Linked DNA regions of Homo sapiens: all the other regions are linked to region 6. Evidence: promoter capture Hi-C in 16 types of primary human blood cells and fetal thymus (Javierre and others, 2016). All regions are on one chromosome and are shown on one strand. The core of a region is centred on a gene start or on the middle of the fragment in contact, and the rest is flanking DNA. Distances in the headings are between cores, read along the strand shown. Region 1 overlaps SYNE1 (spectrin repeat containing nuclear envelope protein 1). Region 2 overlaps SYNE1 (spectrin repeat containing nuclear envelope protein 1). Region 3 overlaps SYNE1 (spectrin repeat containing nuclear envelope protein 1). Region 4 overlaps SYNE1 (spectrin repeat containing nuclear envelope protein 1). Region 5 overlaps SYNE1 (spectrin repeat containing nuclear envelope protein 1). Region 6 holds the start of RMND1 (required for meiotic nuclear division 1 homolog). Region 7 overlaps SYNE1 (spectrin repeat containing nuclear envelope protein 1).

What was found. The method cuts DNA at HindIII sites, captures the fragments that hold promoters and counts their contacts. A CHiCAGO score of 5 or more calls a contact.
Region 1: a fragment that was not itself captured here is called in contact with the fragment with the promoter of RMND1 in region 6 in 1 of 17 cell types (M0 macrophages); the score reaches 5.0 in M0 macrophages.
Region 2: a contact is called between a fragment that was not itself captured here and the fragment with the promoter of RMND1 in region 6, in 3 of 17 cell types (naive CD4 T cells, naive CD8 T cells and non-activated CD4 T cells). The highest score is 6.6, in naive CD4 T cells.
Region 3: a fragment that was not itself captured here is called in contact with the fragment with the promoter of RMND1 in region 6 in 11 of 17 cell types (fetal thymus, naive CD8 T cells, total CD4 T cells and 8 more); the score reaches 12.0 in fetal thymus.
Region 4: a contact is called between a fragment that was not itself captured here and the fragment with the promoter of RMND1 in region 6, in 3 of 17 cell types (non-activated CD4 T cells, naive CD8 T cells and naive CD4 T cells). The highest score is 6.4, in non-activated CD4 T cells.
Region 5: a fragment that was not itself captured here is called in contact with the fragment with the promoter of RMND1 in region 6 in 1 of 17 cell types (megakaryocytes); the score reaches 5.3 in megakaryocytes.
Region 7: a contact is called between a fragment that was not itself captured here and the fragment with the promoter of RMND1 in region 6, in 4 of 17 cell types (non-activated CD4 T cells, naive CD8 T cells, total CD4 T cells and 1 more). The highest score is 6.7, in non-activated CD4 T cells.

Annotation. Positions count from the first base shown.
Region 1 is chr6:152,317,151-152,319,850 of GRCh38, reverse strand. It overlaps SYNE1 (spectrin repeat containing nuclear envelope protein 1), which reads left to right. Exons shown (of 146, transcript NM_182961.4): 85 at 836-988; 86 at 1,588-1,770. Among named protein-coding and RNA genes, the nearest start is that of SYNE1-AS1, 62 kb to the left of the region's middle. The HindIII fragment of the contact is 2,676 bases long and covers 24-2,699 here.
Region 2 is chr6:152,334,930-152,337,629 of GRCh38, reverse strand. SYNE1 (spectrin repeat containing nuclear envelope protein 1) reads left to right here. Exons shown (of 146, transcript NM_182961.4): 76 at 613-789. Among named protein-coding and RNA genes, the nearest start is that of SYNE1-AS1, 44 kb to the left of the region's middle. The HindIII fragment of the contact is 183 bases long and covers 1,342-1,524 here.
Region 3 is chr6:152,294,944-152,297,643 of GRCh38, reverse strand. All of the region lies in intron 93 of SYNE1 (spectrin repeat containing nuclear envelope protein 1), which reads left to right. Among named protein-coding and RNA genes, the nearest start is that of SYNE1-AS1, 84 kb to the left of the region's middle. The HindIII fragment of the contact is 5,328 bases long and covers 1-2,700 here.
Region 4 is chr6:152,218,296-152,220,995 of GRCh38, reverse strand. It overlaps SYNE1 (spectrin repeat containing nuclear envelope protein 1), which reads left to right. Exons shown (of 146, transcript NM_182961.4): 119 at 1-154; 120 at 1,811-1,993; 121 at 2,593-2,700. Among named protein-coding and RNA genes, the nearest start is that of SYNE1-AS1, 160 kb to the left of the region's middle. The HindIII fragment of the contact is 2,405 bases long and covers 233-2,637 here.
Region 5 is chr6:152,353,638-152,356,337 of GRCh38, reverse strand. It overlaps SYNE1 (spectrin repeat containing nuclear envelope protein 1), which reads left to right. Exons shown (of 146, transcript NM_182961.4): 67 at 1,362-1,679; 68 at 2,594-2,700. Among named protein-coding and RNA genes, the nearest start is that of SYNE1-AS1, 26 kb to the left of the region's middle. The HindIII fragment of the contact is 774 bases long and covers 1,000-1,773 here.
Region 6 is chr6:151,450,727-151,453,426 of GRCh38, reverse strand. RMND1 (required for meiotic nuclear division 1 homolog) reads left to right here and starts at 1,301. Exons shown (of 12, transcript NM_017909.4): 1 at 1,301-1,411. DCPH1 (damage control phosphatase 1) reads right to left here and starts at 961. Exons shown (of 5, transcript NM_024573.3): 1 at 841-961. The coding sequence starts at 881. RefSeq lists a silencer at 604-723 and enhancers at 884-1,333, 1,524-1,573. The HindIII fragment of the contact is 8,083 bases long and covers 1-2,700 here.
Region 7 is chr6:152,196,781-152,199,480 of GRCh38, reverse strand. All of the region lies in intron 127 of SYNE1 (spectrin repeat containing nuclear envelope protein 1), which reads left to right. Among named protein-coding and RNA genes, the nearest start is that of SYNE1-AS1, 180 kb to the left of the region's middle. The HindIII fragment of the contact is 678 bases long and covers 921-1,598 here.

The DNA of each region.
Region 1 (2,700 bases), core at 112-2,611, 870 kb before region 6:
TTTTTTTAGTTAAAATTTAAGCTTTTCTCTGGATTAATTTTCCTATCATAGCCTTATTCATATGTATTTCATTTACTTTGACACTCAAAATAATGAAGGCCAAAACACACCATTAACTCTCTTTTAATGGTGTGTTTTCTCCCTACTAAAGAGGTTTTTTTAAAGACCTTTAACTACATAAAGAAATGTTTCTTCTCTTTAATGTCTTTTCTTCGGCATTTTATTCTAAGCAACAGTGTGAATGTTTGTTATCAAATCAAACCAAAGTCACTGGAAATTTGTAAATGCGAACTGTCTTTTTTCACCTTCCTTTCCATTGGATGTACTTAATGCTTGGTTGGCATACTATAGAGCTGTAGTCGGAAAGTTACAAAAAGAGTTAACAGATCATTAAGAGTCATTTATTAAAAGGTGCTTGGAAACAAATCAGTGTGCTTCCAACTGTTTGGGAGGATTTTCCATCTTATGAAGAAAAAGGCTTAGAGGAGTTTGTGTGCTCAAGGTCATTACGTTAGTTAATGGAGAAGATAGGATTCAAACTCAGCTGTCTACACAACCATCTATAATGAGTATTCTGTAAATATTTAATAAGTGAATTTCTCTACACACATTGCTTGTATCTTTGCTGGAACACAAGGAGTGCAGTAAATACTTAAAGATAGTGAAGTCAGGGAAAGCCAGGAGGGCTTGTAACTAATCGCACATCGCTGGTGTGACCAGGTGTTTCAATGCCAAAGCAGTTAAAATGTGTCTTGTCAACATCATTTGAGATTTTTAGTATCTATTATTCACTTTTAACCATGGCTTGTTTTGCTGTTCTTACTGATTTTTTTAGATCCAAGACAAAATAAAAGAAGTTGAGCAGAGCAAGGCCACGAGCCAGGAACTCAGCCGGCAAATTCAGAAGTTAGCTAAAGACCTCACAACTATTCTAACTAAGCTGAAAGCGAAGACAGATAATGTAGTTCAAGCTAAAACTGACCAAAAGGTAAGAAGTAGAATTTTAAAGGGTACTACTGAATGAATTAAATAGTTTTTGGAGTCAGTTTTACTTGGGGATATAGGATAAAAACCTTTTAGGAACCTTTTTTAAAACCAAATAGTAACAGCAGGTGGTAAAGAAATTTTGTAACTGAAGCAACACAGATCCTCTTACATAATTGATCATTATAATTGAACAGTATTAATAAATATACATGCATGAGTGTGTACGAAAGAAGAGCGTCAAAGGACTAAGTGATGATTTAGGAATACAAGTATATAAATTCCAAACTGAATTGTGTCCTTGGTAGCTAAATCTGTGTTCTTCCTCTGTTGATGAGTTCAGGGACTCTAATCCTTTTTGGGTGGGGCAGAAGGAAAATGTTAGCCTTCTCACTCAGCCTCATAGGAAATAAACACCAGCATTACAACATATCCTGCCCTGCCTTTCCAACCGAAGAAACAAAAATGACCTGATCATAGTAGAATTATAGTAGAATTATTCATTATAATATTTGGCTTTGACAAAAATCAGTCTGATCTCGGGAAACCTGGAGAAATTTATTTTCTGTACTCTAATGTTCTTTCATTTTGGTGACCATCAAGGTGCTGGGAGAGGAATTAGATGGCTGTAATTCAAAGTTAATGGAATTAGATGCAGCAGTACAGAAATTCTTGGAACAGAATGGCCAACTGGGTAAGCCACTGGCCAAGAAGATAGGAAAACTGACTGAACTTCACCAGCAGACCATTAGACAAGCTGAGAATCGGCTCTCCAAGCTCAATCAGGTATGTGTTCCGGGCCAGAAATCCAAATCGTGTAAGGCAGAAACTTCCATGTTCTGCTTTTCTCTTTTGAAAATAAATTAACATAAATAAAAAGATAAAATGGACAATGAGAGAGTAGTTTAGGTGTAGCTTATTTCATGCTACACTTGTGATCCTAAGACTTAGGTATAAACCAGCACTTACTTTATATCCAGCCATATGATAAAGTCACTGACAAAGGTGGTCCTACAAATGGACTTTGGAGTGAATATTTTGTAAAATGGAGAAGTATTTTGTAGAATGAATATTCACCCATTAACGTGTTTTATGAAATCAGTTTGGGGTGAATTCAAGTACCTTTAAGTAAGCTACATATATATCAGCTTACGTTGACTTAATAGATTCAGATTGCACGTCTGTAATAATTGTTGCATATAGACTAGACTTTTGAAATCGATTAATATAATCAGGGACAAGTTAAAACCAGGAGTTGGTAACCCATTAATTATAGTTTGAAACTTTGCCTGCTAGAATCCCCACTTGCCACCTCCTTACCCAGGGGAGGGTGAAGGAAGGGATAGAGGAAGGCCTGGCATGGTGGCTCATACCTATAATCCTAGTACTTTGGGAGGCTGAGGCAGAAGGATCACTTGAGCCTAGGAGTTTGAGACCAGCCTGGGCAACATGGTGAAACCTACAAAAGATTCAAAAATTTAACAGGGCATGGTTGGCACGTGCCTGTGGTCCCAGCTACGTGGGAGGCTGAGGTGGGAGGCTGAGCCCGTAAGATTGAGGCTGTAATTAACCATGATCCAGCTGCTGCATTCCAGCCGGGGTGACAGTAAGACCTTGGAAAAAAAAAAAAAAGAAAAAAGAAAAAAGAAAGAAAAAGAGGAATAATTCAATCATATTAAGAACTTGAGCTTTATCCTAAGGTCACTGAGAAAGCTT
Region 2 (2,700 bases), core at 184-2,683, 880 kb before region 6:
CAGCTTTAGACCTAATACATTGATAAAACTTATTAGAGTTTCGCTGGGCGCAGTGGCTCACTCCTGTAATCCCAGCACTTTGGGAGGCCAAGGCGGGCGTATTATCTGAGGTTGGGAGTTCGAGACCAGCCTGACCAACGTAGAGAAACCCTGTCTCTACTAAAAATACAAAATTAGTTGGGTGTGACGGCGCAAGCCTGTAATCCCAGCTACTCAGGAGGCTGAGGCAGGAGAATCACTTGAACCCGGGAGGCAGAGATTGCTGTGAGCCGAGATCGTGCCATTGCACTCCAGCCTGGGCAACAAGAGCGAAACTCTGTCTCAAAAAAAAAAAAAAATTATTAGAGTTTCACAACACTGATTAAAACCATATAGCATAACTTGTAGACATTTAAAGTCTTTAGGAACCCTACATTTTTTTAAAAAAAATCTGCTTTTCCTGAAGCAAATAAAGAAGTACTTTTTAAATTTATGTATTTGTGTGTGTGAGTTTGCGTGTGTATGTGTGTGTCAAATGAGTGCACAGGCCAGCTGGAAAGTTCCATCTCTGATTCATTAACCATAAATGTTTCCATGTATGGTTGCTAACTTTTATCTCTGTGTTTTCTCAAGATTGAACAAAAGCTTGTCCAGGCCCAGAACTTAACTCAGGGCTGGGAAGAGATCAAGCACCTGAAGTCTGAGCTCTGGATTTACCTGCAAGATGCTGATCAGCAACTGCAGAACATGAAGAGGAGGCACTCTGAGCTGGAGCTGAACATTGCACAGAACATGGTTTCACAAGTTAAGGTGGGAATTAATTTGCCCCCAAGGGAGATAAAAGAGGCCAACAGAGTAGAAAACCTGAAATGTGTTCAGTGTATTCACTTCAATATGCCTGAGTGTCTGTCAATCCTTAGACATTAATACAACTCTTTAAGGCAGAGGTCCCCAAGCCCCAGGTTATGGACAAGCACAAGTCCATGTCCTGTTAGGAACCTGGCCGCACAGTGGGAGGCGAGCAAGCATTAATGCCTGAACTCCACCTCCTGTCAGATCAGAGGCCACATCAGATTCTCATAGGAGTGCAAACCCTACTGTGAACTGCGCATGCAAGGGATCTAGGTTGCATGCTCCTTATGATAATCTAACTAATATCTGATGATTTGAGGTGGAACAGCTTCATCCTGAAACCATCCCCCTCCAGCCCCATTCACGGAAAAATTGTTTTCCACAAAACCCATCCCAGGTGCCAAAAAGTTTGGGGACCGCTGCTTTAAGGAATAGCAAATCTGAACAAACATCATTTGGTGCCAGGGAAAACAGATTATAAAGTAGACATTCAAATATATTACTGAAGCTTCAGATGGCCACTTTCATCAGAAGACATTCATACTCTACATTATTCCTGAGAAAAGCAGGTGTGATTTAGTCTACAGAGTAGACTGCTTAGTCAGAAAACTCTGTGACTAAGCAAACATGGAACATTATTCTTTTTTTAGATTTTCATCACCATATTATGCTAAAACTGTAGGACTGTAAGCTTATCAATTCATTAGTTATATATTTGAGCTATATGTAATTAATTTAAAGTATAATATAAATGCAGTTTGTATTACATATTTATATATAATTTAAATAATTTAAAATATATAGGAAATTGTGGCCGGGTGTGGTGGCTCATGCCTGTAATCCCAGCACTTTGGGAAGCTGAGGTGGGCAGATCACTTGAGGCCAGGAGTTTGAGACCAGGCTGGCCAACATGGTGAGACCACATCTCTATTAAAAATACAAAAATTAGCCTTGCGTGGCACATGCCTATAATCTCAGCTACTTGGGAGGCTGAGGCACGAGAATCATTTGAACTTGGGAGGCGGAGGTTGCAGTGAGCCATGATCATGCCACTGCACTCCAGCCTGGGCCACAGAGTGAGACTCTGTCTCAAAAAAAAGGGAAAAAAGAAAATTATAAGTGTATTAACTTAATTGGAAGTTGGGTCAGATTTTAAATAAACTTAAAGATGTTTTTTCTCTGTGATTATGAGTCAATAATAATATATTGTCTACTGGAGTGCTGTTTGCAAGTACAGAGAAAAAAGAGAATAGGGATCGGGATAATAAGATTTATTTTTTCTCAGAAGCATGAACTCTTTTTTAAAAAAATTTGTGAACCATCCTAGAAATTTAATTTTTTAAAATGTATTTTATAAGAAAAGTTTTGTTTATTATAAAAGGCTTAGAAAATACAGAAATGTCTTAATAAGCAAATTTAAATCACAATCACTTATGATACTACCATTCAGAGATAATAAACAATGCCAATATTTTGCTGTATTTGTTTTAGATATACACATAATAAAAACATTCAAGATGATACTCTTGTTAACATTTTAATTGTGATTGAACCTAGCTTTAAGGACAAAATTTCATATATCAGTCAGGGGATTTAAGAGGTGTTTTTTGGGTAGTGGGAGTAAATGGCAATGGGAGTGAGCAGTGGGGAAGTATGGAAGTCCATGAACCAACCCCTTGGAGGAAACACTATCCAAAGAAATGATCCTCTGGCCACATATTGGGCTGGCAGAGATGGTATCTTAGAGGTTTCTTTTTGCTGTGTATGCAGGGAGTAGATGAATCTAAACCATTGCCTTTCCACTTTGCGAATGTACTCCAGCCTTCCCCAACTCTGTACATAACACCACTGCCCACCTGGTGACCCAAG
Region 3 (2,700 bases), core at 14-2,513, 840 kb before region 6:
ACAGTAATAGTATTACTTTACATGTATATAAAATAATAGAATTTATATAAGTGCATTTACAAGCATGATTTATTATGAACATATAGGCCTGCCTGTTATTTGCCAAACACTCCACAATGTGCTCAGGATGAAGACGAAAAGCAGTGACCCAGACAGCCCTTAGGGAGCTTACAGTGTGTGTGAGGACAGGCAAATGCTTACAAGAGAAGGTGGCAGGTAGTGTGGCCGAGGGCAGTACAGTGTTGTGGGAGGGCCTAGAGAAGGCACCTAAACTGGCTGGAGTCAGGCAGAGGTCAAGGATGGCCCCCTTTAGTTTTAAGGGAGGAGCACAGTTAGGCAGTTGGAGTGCAGTTGGGTCGTGTGAGATGAAGATTTTCAGGCAGAAGAAACCACCTGTTGGAAGCTGTGGAGGCGGGAAGCAAAATGGCCCATCCAGGCAACTGCAAATAGTTTCAGTGTAATTGGAGAAACATTGGAGGAGGAGGAGAGGGGGAAATGAGACTGAGAGGGATATGGGAACCACATCATGGAGGCCCTGAATGCCACAGGAAGGAATTTCAGCTTCCTCCAGAAGCTAATATTTAACCACTGAGGGAATTTAATGAGAAGCTGTGTACAGAACTGATACTTCTGGATCAATGTGGACAGGAGAATAGAAGTGTGCAAATTCAGAGCCAGGGGAGCTGTTAGAAACAGAAGTTACACAGTCTCATGCTTGGTCCACCCTGGTGATAAAAATGAGAGAAACAGGCCAGGAGGGACTACAGAGGCCAGGAGGGACTACAGAGGCCTGGACAGCTCCTGCTCCACATAAATGAGGCAATGTCTCCTCTGTTAGCATTACTTTAACAAAGACACAGGGCCCAGTGTTACCATACCTTGTGGTTTGCAAAACAAGCTACGAATGTGAATTTTAATGAAATCTCTCTATCTTCATGAAGAGAGATTTTAAACAATTTAAAACATTGTATAAGCCACACTAAATATGTGCAGGTCAGAGGCAGCCCACAGGCTGCCAGTTTGCAACCTTTGAGTTAGGAAGCTGTTACTGTAATGAGAACTTGAACCAAGGCTGTGGCCAGGATATGCATCGTTAGCACTCCATCCTCCCATAAGCAGTGGATGTTAAGGGGGAGGAGAAATCAGGAATAAATCCCAAGTTTATAGCTTAGGTGAGAAGACATTCCATTTATTGCAAGATGGATAATACTTCATTGTTTTTTCCTAAATTGGTTCCTTTTGGAAATGTTGACTTTGAAGAGCCTACAGGATATGCATGAACATCTGGATATGTGAGTCTGGAGCTTATCAATTCACCAATATTGGCGAGTGAGTGGAAAACAAACTATAAAAGAGAAAGAGTGAATGACTAGAAAGCTGGGAGGAGAACAGAGAGATTTTTTAGAAAGTGTTTCCGGAAAGGGTTTGTCAGTGCTATTGAATGCTAGAGGTCTGGCAAGGGAAGGGATGAAAATTCATCATTTTTTGTCAAAGAGAAGAAGCTGGTGAGAGCAAGCTCTGCAGTCATCAGGATCAAAGTCCAAACTGGAATTTAGAAGTGGATCGAGGGTGAGAAAGTCCCATGAAAATCACCCTTTCAGAAGTTGGATTATGAAATGAAAGGGAGAAAACAAAGAAATTAGGATGGAGCCTGTGTGTGCAAGTGCATTCACGTGTGACGATCCGTCACATTGTGAACTGTGGACTTTTTAGAAAATGTGATATCCTTCAAGAAAACAAATAAAAGAAACAGTGCGTGCAGGTGTTTTTGGATGGAAGAGAGAAAGTCAACAAAGCCAGAGAGGATGTTAATAGACCAAGATCCTTGAAAAAGCAGTTTATGGGATTCTCAGAGTCTGTGGGAGAGTCAGGTTTAAGCAGTGAAACTGGAAAGCATAAGATAAGGGTGAGTGTGAATATACATAGACTTTTGAAAATTTGAGAAGTTGCAGTATCTCCTTGACAGCTTGGATTGCATGTGTATGTGTGTGTGTGCGTGTTTGTGTGTGTATGTGTGTGTGTGTGTGTCAGTAACACACACACATGCATAAATGACTCTGGATTGAGTCATGTTTGCGGGTTTCCAAGTGGATGAAGTAAAGGTTAAAAGAGCAAGAGAAACAAGAGTCTTGGCAAGAAAGGGGTTTAAGTAACTTCAGACATAACTACAAGTCCAGCTGAGCGATGACAGCATACAAGGGTGTGGAGGACTGAAGTGGGGTGGGAGTGAGTGAGGATCAATGGATCTAAAGCTATTAAGGACATGAAGAGTAATCCACTCAAGACAGTGACAGGGTTAGGAATAAAGAGGAAGCAGTCTCCATGTTCCAATATCATCAATAAATGTTGGGGACTCATCTGGAGACCTCAGGAACAACAACAAAATGGGTAGAAGCTGTCATAGTCACTCAAATATTATTTCATATAATCCTCAATCCCACCCAAGATTGGACCAATGAGTGAACCAGTGTGCAAGATATAAGTTATTTGCTCCAATTATATAGCTACACAAGAGGAGAATTTCGCTAGAATCTCAGCTGTCCCAGTCTGAATTCATTCTACCGCATGACACTGCTACATTTGTTTCTCAGACGGCTGGAGCCTTCTTCAATACTTTTTACCAATACATGATTCTCAATAAGACTCAGGTATTTTAAGCTGACATAATTCCCTTCAACAGTACAACTGCAAAAGCAATGA
Region 4 (2,700 bases), core at 186-2,685, 770 kb before region 6:
CCTACTTCAGCTTTGGCAAAGATACAAGGACTACTCCAAACAGTGTGCTTCGACAGTTCAGCAGCAGGAGGATCGAACCAATGAGCTGTTGAAGGCAGCCACAAACAAGGACATTGCCGATGATGAGGTTGCCACATGGATTCAAGATTGCAACGTATGTTCAGGAGCTACCTTGTTTTCCCCACATGCCCTTCTTAGACTGCCCAAGTTTAGCTTTTGGTCTGTGTAAGCTTTGGTATGTCTTTCTATGTGAGACAGTTACCCAAAAATAACTGTCTTAGGATCAAAGAGCCTGCCTGATTTTCAGAACACAGGTGCACATGCATCAGACTAAGAGGTCTCCTCCCATTGTTTTATTTTTTAAAATGAGTTGTTTTCCCATTTTTCCTAGTGGAATTTAGTCAATGTGAAAGATTGAGGCTCTTTGTGTTTTCTAGGGTGGTCAATATAAGACATGACCATATGGGGAATAGTGTTCTATCTTTAAAAAATCTTCTGTTCCAGATGTTGTCCATTTACATTCATTAACTCCTATGTAAGCATCTACACAATAGTTTCATCTAAGATATTAATGGTAGAAAGAAGTCTTTCTCTCCTAATTTACTGGTATACTTCTTTTAATGGCTTTTTAATAATTCTCTTTTTCACTGTAGCTGCCAATAACCTACTTAAGGGTTTAAGGAACAGCTCTTCTCTTGTTTCAAGCATTACATGGCTCTTACTATTTGTCCTTATTTGTCTTTATTTTTAAGAGCTTGTTACGAGGATCTTTTTATAAACTTTTCCAAATCAGTTTATTAGAATTAGGCAAGCTATAAAAACTATGTAAATAAAAGTTTAACCTATTCTAATATCTTCAACCTGAATAATCACTTTAAAGCTAAAGATGGGTATTTTAAAATAAAGATAATACAGTGCTTTTTTCATCCACATAATTTGTGTGTACAAGAACTGTCATTTTCAATACTCCTGAATTGAAATACACCTTGTCTGTTATCTGTGTCAAGCGTAAAGAGCCCTTTGTTCTTCTTTCTCTCACAGAAGTCACTGCCTAGGCATAACATGACTGAGTGGGATACCAGCAACAGGTAGAAGAAGCAGTCACTTATTATCTCTCAATGATAGGATAGAAAGCAGAAACAGGGAGTTTCCATTGGCTTATATTTTTTAACCTGTAGGAGGGTCCCACAGAAAGTGGAGGCAAAGAGATCCCATGGAAAAGAATGGGAATACAGGCTACTCTCACCCCCTGCTCACCAAAATCATCACTGTGTTCTGTACCCTACTGAGATAGGAGGTTGCTGTACTTGCAATAATGTGACCACACATATAGAAGACACCACGGACAAATTCCTGGTGTGTATGATAATAATAGAAAAAGGAAAAATATAACATTTTGTTTTCAATTTGATACAAATTACATAAAGAGGCAGGAAAAAAACTGCCAAAATATTTCCAGTTATTGGCTCTACTCTTGGGTCATGTTTGTTTTTTTTTTTTTTCTTGTTTATGTATGTTTTTCTGCATTTCCCCAAGGTCCTGTAATGAACCTACATAGCTTTTACTAACAAAAGAGTAATTATATATAGCCATAGGTTATATGTGTATAATGTATGTTTAAAATATTAACATAGCATTTTAAAAAATGGGGTTCAGTGCGTGTTCATTTTTCCACAGGTGAAGTTTATTTAGCCTAATAATATGATCCGTAGGAATGGTGTGTTTCTACATGTGTAGCCCTTTGCCGATTGCTGTTTATGATAAGGAGTATCAACATGCTTCAGAGTGGGCATATTTTCACCTCTTCTAGGACCTCCTCAAAGGACTGGGCACAGTTAAAGATTCCCTCTTTTTTCTCCATGAGCTGGGAGAGCAACTGAAGCAACAAGTGGATGCTTCCGCAGCATCAGCTATTCAATCGGATCAACTCTCTTTGAGTCAACACTTGTGTGCCCTGGAGCAAGCTCTCTGCAAACAGCAGACTTCATTACAGGTACAGAGCTCCTATTTAGTATCTTCTGTATATTGGCTGTTCTCTAATATCTGGGCACAAACACAGAAAAAGAATTCCTTGTCATGGCAACAATGCCTCCTTCAAGACTCAAGAAAATAGCAAGTAAACAAACTTGGAAGTTCTGGTGGGGACGATGAAGGTGGACGTTTTGCGCTGTTCTCTGCCAAGGAATTTTAAAATCGGTTTAAGATGCAAGCCCCTGAACCAATGCCTGCCACCATGGCCTGTTCAATTAATAAACACTAAGCGGCTTTAATATAAATATTCGTGTTTATTTAACTCAGACTTTTACAAGAATCAGAAGATTTTTCAGACGTGTTGTTTGATCATGTATTTAAAGAATAATTTGAATTGTTATTGACTTATGGTGCATAGAAATAATTATAGTTTTTAGAAAAATTACATAAAGAAGATTTAAATTGTTATAGCTTTTTTTATAGGAACGTCTAGAGAATGGCAATTTGATACAAGAATATGAAAAATAATTTTAATATCCACTTGCCCTTTTACCAGACTTTATTAAAATACCAATTTTTTTTTTTTTAACTGAAATACCAATTTCTTTTGTGGAAAAAAAGGCTGGAGTTCTTGATTATGAAACCTTTGCCAAGAGTTTAGAAGCTTTGGAGGCCTGGATAGTGGAAGCTGAAGAAATACTACAAGGGCAGGACCCTAGCCACTCATCT
Region 5 (2,700 bases), core at 137-2,636, 900 kb before region 6:
TATGAACTATGGAAAAGATGTTGAGAAGATTAATAGATTAGTCAACTACTGTCCAGGGCCACAGTGTCTGTATTTTTAAATAAAATATTATTGGAATGCAGCCACACCCATTTATTTATGTATCGTCTGTGGTTTTTTTCATACTACAATGGCAGAGTTAAGTCATTGCAACAGAGACCTATGGCCCACAAGATCCAAATTATTTACTATCAGGCCTTTCATAGAAAAAGTTTGCCAACCTTGAATTAGGAAAATAATTATAAAAAATTATCTTGAAAAAAAGTCTAAGAATTTTAGAATAAAGTTTATGTATTTGTTGCCAATTTGATTAATATTTTACCATGTATATCTATAGTTCTTCTCCTTCCATGTGCATATGTCTTTACATTATACTGTGCTTGAAGTGACATCATATTTGAAGAAAAATTTTCTATTAGTTGAAACCATGTGAGAATGTTATTTTTGTAAGAAAAATATTTTAGCAATCTTAAGTGGTTTTTAAAATATAGTATTGAGAAATACTATGTTTTAACTACATATACTGATATTTTTAACATTGTTGATGGGATTTGACTTGATTTATTTTACTTTGGGTGATCAGATCAAGTGACAGTATAGATTTATGTTTATCACCAGAAATATAAGTGTGCCATGTTGTTTTACCAATATCTTTAAGGATATAAGATTCTTTTTGTCCTATAAAAAATAGCATATGCTCTTCAAAACTTGATTTATACTAAATTTGTAGGGTAAATCTTTGGGGTTTAGGCTTTGGTGGAGGAAATTTATTTGCACCTCAGAGCACCTGGTGGGCAGGTGTGATGAACCAATTTCCCAAGTTTGTGTGCCCTGCACTCTCCAGTTTCAAATTTTCTTGGCCACCACAATGCCTAGAGTACAGCTTTGGCAAAAGATTCCTCCTTAGGAAGCAGAAGGTTCATTGTTTCTTTCTCAGTCACAAATGTAGCACTGAGCTATTCAATGTCAAAGCAAGAAGCTTAAGTCACTTTAAGCAGATTATGAGCTATAATAAGCCTAGGTCATTCTTTTAAACAATAGCCCTTTATTCACAAGTGTTTTTGCCTGTTAGCTAAAAAGTCAAATTTGGGAAACTGTTGATTGAGAAAAATATTGGGGTGTGTGTGTGTGTATGTTGATTATTTTAATTGAAAAAGTTTTAGGAATCCTTCTGACTTCGGAGAAAATATGGTTAGGGACATATTTTTGTATAGGGCATAATAATAAAATCATTTTTTTCTAATGAGAAGTTCAAGTGGGCACAGTTGGCTTGGGCAAGACATGCTAACCCATGCAAGTGTGAAATATGATTGAGAGTGACAGCCATACCTTTTTCTCTGCAGGAGCTACAGGTACACTGTGCAGAGGGGCAGGCCCTGTTGAACTCAGTGCTGCACACCAGAGAGGATGTGATCCCATCAGGTATCCCACAGGCAGAGGACCGGGCTTTAGAGTCTCTCCGGCAAGACTGGCAGGCTTACCAGCACAGGCTGTCCGAGACTCGAACTCAGTTCAATAACGTGGTGAACAAATTGAGGCTAATGGAGCAAAAGTTTCAGCAAGTAGATGAATGGCTCAAAACAGCAGAGGAGAAAGTTAGTCCCAGGACCAGACGTCAGTCTAACAGGGCAACCAAGGAGATACAATTACATCAGATGAAGGTACAACTCATGTAGATTCCTGATCTTTGTCAAAGCTACAGTTACCTTGCATAGTTTGTTTCATTAAGATATTTAGTAACTTTTATCCAAAGCTTAGGCTTTGCAAAATCTTTTTGATTACCTAGAAAGTTAAAATAAATCACAATGGAGCATTCCTCTTACAGCAATTATTTCATAAATTAGTCTTTGATACAAGGTAGTTTAATGTAACCATTTTATATTTTCTTTCCATACCCTATTACCTTGTTTTGTGAAGATACATGAATGCTTGTATTACAATAATTTAAGTTTATGGTTCTGATATGAAATTGCTCCAATATAGTTCATTGAAATAGTACTTGAGAATTAGTTTTATTCTAAGTTTTATGCAATTTTAGTGCACACATCTAAAATAATGCTTGAGCCTTAGGAATTTATTTTCATTATCCACCCATTTTAAAATTGATCTAGGTACAATAGGAGGTCTAAAAAATTATGCCACTTTGTTTTCATGTTTATTTATTTTATTTAATTTTTTTGGAGACAGAGTCTTGCTCTGTCGCCCAAGCTGGAGTGCAGTGGTGCGGTCTCAGCTCACTGTAACCTCTGTAGCCTGGGTTCAAGCGATTCTCCTGCCTCAGCCTCCCAAGCAGCTGGGACTACAGGCGTGAGCCACCGCACCTGGCCTGTTTTCATTTTTAATTTTTGAATTGAAGTGTAATAGATACAGAAAACTATCCAACTCAAGTGTACAGTTTGTATCACATTGTTGTAATATAATATTTATGAAGATAACATATGGCATTTTCAAAATTAAATCTCAAAATAAACATCTTCTAAACCTACACTGAAACCATTTCCTATAAGAAGATATACATTTGGCTTATTCGAATGGCTAAGATTGAATCTTTCCCTTCGATACTTTGTCATTTCAGAAGTGGCACGAAGAAGTGACTGCATACAGAGATGAAGTTGAGGAAGTGGGAGCTAGAGCTCAGGAGATACTGGACGAGAGCCACGTGAACAGCAGAATGGGTTGCCA
Region 6 (2,700 bases), core at 52-2,551:
CATTAAATCAACTGTCACTTGAATTTTCCCAGGCAGTAGGTATAGTAAGTCCTTTTTTGAGATTTTACTTTAATTGGAAAGTATTACTGTTTTCCTAACTACTACATTTCCTGCACCTCTGGAACAAAGTCTCTGGCCAGGACTGGAGTGAGGCCAGAAGCCCTAGGGCGCAAAATTGAAGGAGATACTCTCTATACTTGCATGACCTGAAACAGTGACTGCCTCAATTTGGGGCCATTGGCGCCACTTTGTTGGCCTCAACCTACTTTCTGCCCAGGTTTATTTTCTTCAAAGTGTTCTCGTCTTTTGCAATATTTTGAAGTAAGGACAAATTTCAAATATAAATTTGGCCATTCGATTTATGCAAATGGATGTTATTTGCACGGTCACCCACAACTTTACCCAAGAATCAGTAGCGTGACGACTATAAAGCAAAAAACTAGACAGTTCTTACTGTGAGATTACGATTTGATCAACAACAGGGAGAAACCCGTTTCTTAATAGCGCTGAGATCCCCAACTCTTACGCAGAATTTTAACGCCCCCAAAGCGCGTCTATTAAAGTGAATAAATAAAAAGTGACCGCCAGGAACAGACCGCGAAGCTGACCCCTGTCCTGATCCTTACGAGCAGCCGCCGCGGGCAGGCTCCCTCCCCGGGGCCGCCTCCCTTCGCCTCCGAGCCAGTCCGCGAAACCCGCAAAGGCGCCCCGGAAAGCCGCGCCCGGCGGCGGGACTCGAACGCAGCCCACCGGGGAGCGGGCGCCCTCCGCTTAGTCCCCACAGGCTCCCGGCGAGGCCCGGCTTTCCGCAAAAGTGGGGAGGAGAAAAGCTAGACTAACCCCACGTCCTGTCCTGAGAGAGACGCCGGGACGACAGCCATCACTTTCCGCGATCCCGGCCGCAAAGCTCGGCTGTTCAATCGCCGCAGAAACAGAGGCGGTACCGCCGCGAAGGAGGAGCTGAGAATGGGGGTGGTGTGGCTTTAAAAAAAAAGTGCTTTTGAATAAAGAAACTTTATTTGGTGCCCGATCAAACGGCAAACAGTGGCTCGCCAGAAGACCCAATCTTCCGGGGACGAAGGCGGGGCCAGCGGAGGGCGACTAGAGGAGCGGATATGGAAGCGAGCGAAAGCCGGAAGCAGGCAAGGGACCGGGAGGTCCCAGGGCCTAGGGAGCGGAAGAGGTCGCGGCGACGCGGCTCACGTGGTCAGACAGTCACGTGGCCCGAGTTTCTCCCGCTAAGTGGGACCAGAGTTCAGTGCGGCTGCGCAGTAGCGGGGGTGGGCGGGAGCGCCCTTCCAGGAGATGGGTTGGCTGCAGTAGTGAGAGGCTGGGGGTGCGGCTCTTTCCCTGCAGTCCTGCCGAGGAAGCGTGCGTCCCTGGCGCTTCCTTCTTCTCTTCCGGCGGAGAGGTTAGTGTATTGCCTTTTCTTTAGCAGCTCGAGTGGTCCGGCTTGGAGGTCTGCGCCCTGGCTCCTGGCCGCCCGGAACGTGTACAGTTACGGGTTACGCCAGTGCGGCTGTGACCCTTTGCCTCTTACCGTGATCTTTGGTCAGCTTAGCTGGGAGTAAAAAGCACTCAATTAATGAACCCTTTTTTTGAGCCAGTGCACCGCGGTAACTGTAGAAATCGATAAAATAATTTTGAGTTTGAGGAATTGAACGGCATACTCCCAAAGATGAGCGCCACTTAGCTCTCGAATCGTAGCCTAGCTGTAATCGATTTTCTTAATTGGTGTAATTGTTCTCTAAAAGTTGAAATGTGCCCGGGAACTGAGTAACTGCCTTGTATTTCATTTTAAAAATTCGATCGAATGCCTACTATGTGCTGGGCGCTATTGTCAGGAGATATAATAGGAAAAAACACAAATCCGTATCCTCAGGGAGCTTCCATTCTGGAAGGAAGACACAAAAATCTGCCCTTTCCTCTTATTTTTTTCCTTTAGCTTTGTGTCTCACGTATTTTACTGATTTACCTCGTTTTGTCTGTCACTCCCAATGCAAGGTTCAAAAGATTCAAAAGATAGGATTTTTGTCTATTTTATTTTCAGCTGTATTGTCAGCAACTAGGACAATACCTGGCACATGATAAGAACTGAGTTCGTTTGCAGTATGAATTAATAAACTAAAAATTAAAGGTGTGCAAGTGATGTTAAACAATGGAGAAATGCAAAGTGGAGGAAGATAAGAGAATGGATGCTGGTTGTGTTTTTTTTTTTTTTTTTTTTTATTGATCATTCTTGGGTGTTTCTCGCAGAGGGGGATTTGGCAGGGTCATAGGACAATAGTGGAGGGAAGGTCAGCAGATAAACAAGTGCACAAAGGTCTCTGGTTTTCCTAGGCAGAGGACCCTGCGGCCTTCCGCAGTGTTTGTGTCCCTGGGTACTTGAGATTAGGGAGTGGTGATGACTCTTAACCAGCACGCTGCCTTCAAGCATCTGTTTAACAAAGCACATCTTGCACCGCCCTTAATCCATTCAACTCTGAGTGGACACAGCACATGTTTCAGAGAGCACAGGGTTGGGGGTAAGGTCACCGATTAGCAGGATCCCAAGGCAGAAGAATTTTTCTTAGTATGGAACAAAATGAAAAGTCTCCCATGTCTACTTCTTTCTACACAGACACGGCAACCATCCGATTTCTCAATCTTTTCCCCCCCTTTCCCCCCTTTCTATTACACAAAACCGCCATTGTCATCCCG
Region 7 (2,700 bases), core at 10-2,509, 750 kb before region 6:
TTAGTAACTTAAAGAAATGTCTGATCCTGCAGAAAATGTATTCAGTGCATTGTTTTAAATTGAGTAGTAACAGCAACAGATCTTCTCAGCTATTACATTATAAGTATAGATCACAGAATGTAGCAACTCTATAGTGCTTGAAAATGAAAGTTAAATTTAGGTGTCTGTTTTTAAAAATATTTCATCAGTGTGATCAGCAATTCAGGACAAAAAGAAAGGATAAGTTAGAGGTTTATGAAGTCAGTCTAAAGTAAAGAAGATCAATACAGTGATTAAACTTCAATTTAGGAAAAAAAAATTTTAAATCAATAAAATGATGAGTAGATGGCAGAAAGATTCTGCAGGCAATCATACTTTATCAGAAGGACTTAGCAATTTATCAAATTATGTGGAAGCAAATGAAATATGGGCAAACCTCATTTTATTGCACTTGTTTTAGTGTGTTTCACAGATCCTATGTTTTGTTTTTTGTTTTTTGGTTTTTTTTTTTTTTTTTACAAATTGAAGATTGTGGCATTGCTGCATAGAACAAGTCTACCAGCACCATTTTTCCAACAGCATGTGCTCACTTTATATGTCTGCATAATTTTGGTAATTCTCACAATATTCCAAACTTTTTCTTTACTGTTATATTTGTTACAGTGATCTACAGTCAGTGTGACCTTTGATGGTGCTATTGTAATTAGTGGCACCACACACTGTGCCCATAGAAGTCAGCAATCTTAATTCATAAATGTAGCATGTGTTCTGATTGCTCCACCAACAATGTTCCCAATCTCTCTCCTTCTCCTCTGGCCTCCTTATTTGCTGAGACACAACAATATTGAAATTAGGCCAATTCATACAGTGGCCTCTGAGTGTTCAATTGAAAAAAATCTCATGTCTCTCACTTTAAATCAAAAGCTAGAAATGATTAAGCTTAGTGAGGAAGACATGTCAAAAGCTGGAACAGGCCAAAAGCTAGGCCTCTTGTGCCACAAACAGCCAGGTTGTGAATGCAAAGGAAAAGTTCTGAAAGGAAATTAAAAGTAATACTCCAGTGAATGCATGGATGAGAAGAAAGCAAAACATCCTTATTGCTGATACAGAGAAACTTTGAGTGGTCTGAATAAAAGATCCAACCAGCCACAACATTCCTTTAAGCCAAAGCCTAATCTGGAGCAAGGTCGTAACTCCCTTTAATTCTGTGAAGGCTGAGGGAGGAGAAGTAACTGCAGAAGAAAAGATGGAAGCAGGCAGAGGTTGGTTCATGAGTTTTAAGGAAACAAACCATCTCCATAACATAAAAGTGCAAGGTGAAGCAGCAAGTGTTGAAGTAGAAGCTGCAGTAAGTTATGCAGAAGATCTAGCTAAGATCATTGATGGAAGTGGTTACCCTCCCTCCCTCCCTTCCTTCCTCTTTCCTTCCTTCCCTCTTTCTTTCCGTCTTTCCTTTTAACCTTCCTTCCTTCTCCCCTCCCCTCCCCTCCTCTCCCCTTCCTGACAGAGTTTTGCTCTTGTTGCCCAGGCTAGAGGTAGATCAAACAGCCCTATGTTGGAAGAAGATGCCATTGAGAAATTTAATAGCTTAAAAGAAGTCAATGCCTGGCTCGAAAGCTTCAGAGAAAAGGCTAACTCTCTTGTTAGGGGCAAATGGAGCTGGTGACTTAAAGTCAGTGTTCATTTAACATTCTGGAAATCCTAAGGCCTTTAAGAATTATGCTAACTCTACCTGTGCTCTATAAATAGAACAACAAAACCCAGATGGCACCATATCTGTTTACAGTACAGTTTTACTGATATTTTAAGCCCACTTTTGAGACCCACTGCTCAGAAAAAAAAGGCTTTCTTTCAAAGTATTACCACTTCTTGATAATGCACGTAGTCACCCTAGATATCTGATGGAGATGGAGATGTACAAGACTAATGTTGTCTTCATGCCTTCTAGCACAATATCTATCCTGTAGCCCATGGATCAAGGAATAATTTCAACTTCCAAGTCTTATTATTTAAGAAATACACTTTGTGAGGCTATAGCTGCCATAGATAGTGATTCCTATGATGGATCTGGGCAAAGTAAATGGAAAACCCTGTGGAAAGGATTCGTCATTGCAGATGGCAGTAAGAACATTCCCGATTTGACCTGAGGAAGCAGAACAAGATGGCTGAGTAGAATTCTCCACTGACTGTTCTCCCTGCAGGAACACCAAATGTAACAACTATCTACATAAGAAAGCGCCTTCATAAGAATAAAAAATCAGGTGAGCAATCACATTACCTGATTTCAACTTCATAGTACAGAAAGAGGCAATGAAGAGGGTAGGAAAGACAACCTTGGATTGCCCACACCACCTCTTCTTTTCGGTGCCCCAGCAGCAGCCACATGGCACGGAGAGAGCATCTGTGCATATCGAGGAAGGAGAGCCCAGCAGTTGGTCTGCATTGCATTGGAGCTCAGTGCTGCCAATACCAGGCAGAACTCAGCTGATGCCCACGGAGGGAGCATTTACACAAGACCTAGCCAAAGGGGAAGCTCCCATCCCAGCCAACAGAATCTGAGTTTTGACAAGCACTTGCTACCATGGGCTAAAATGCTCTGGGGTCCTACATAAATTTGAAAGGCTGTCTAGGCCACAAGTACTACACTCCTAGGTGGGTCCTAGTGCAGTACTGGGCTTGGAGCCAGTGGACTTGGGGGTACATGACCCGGTGACACACCAG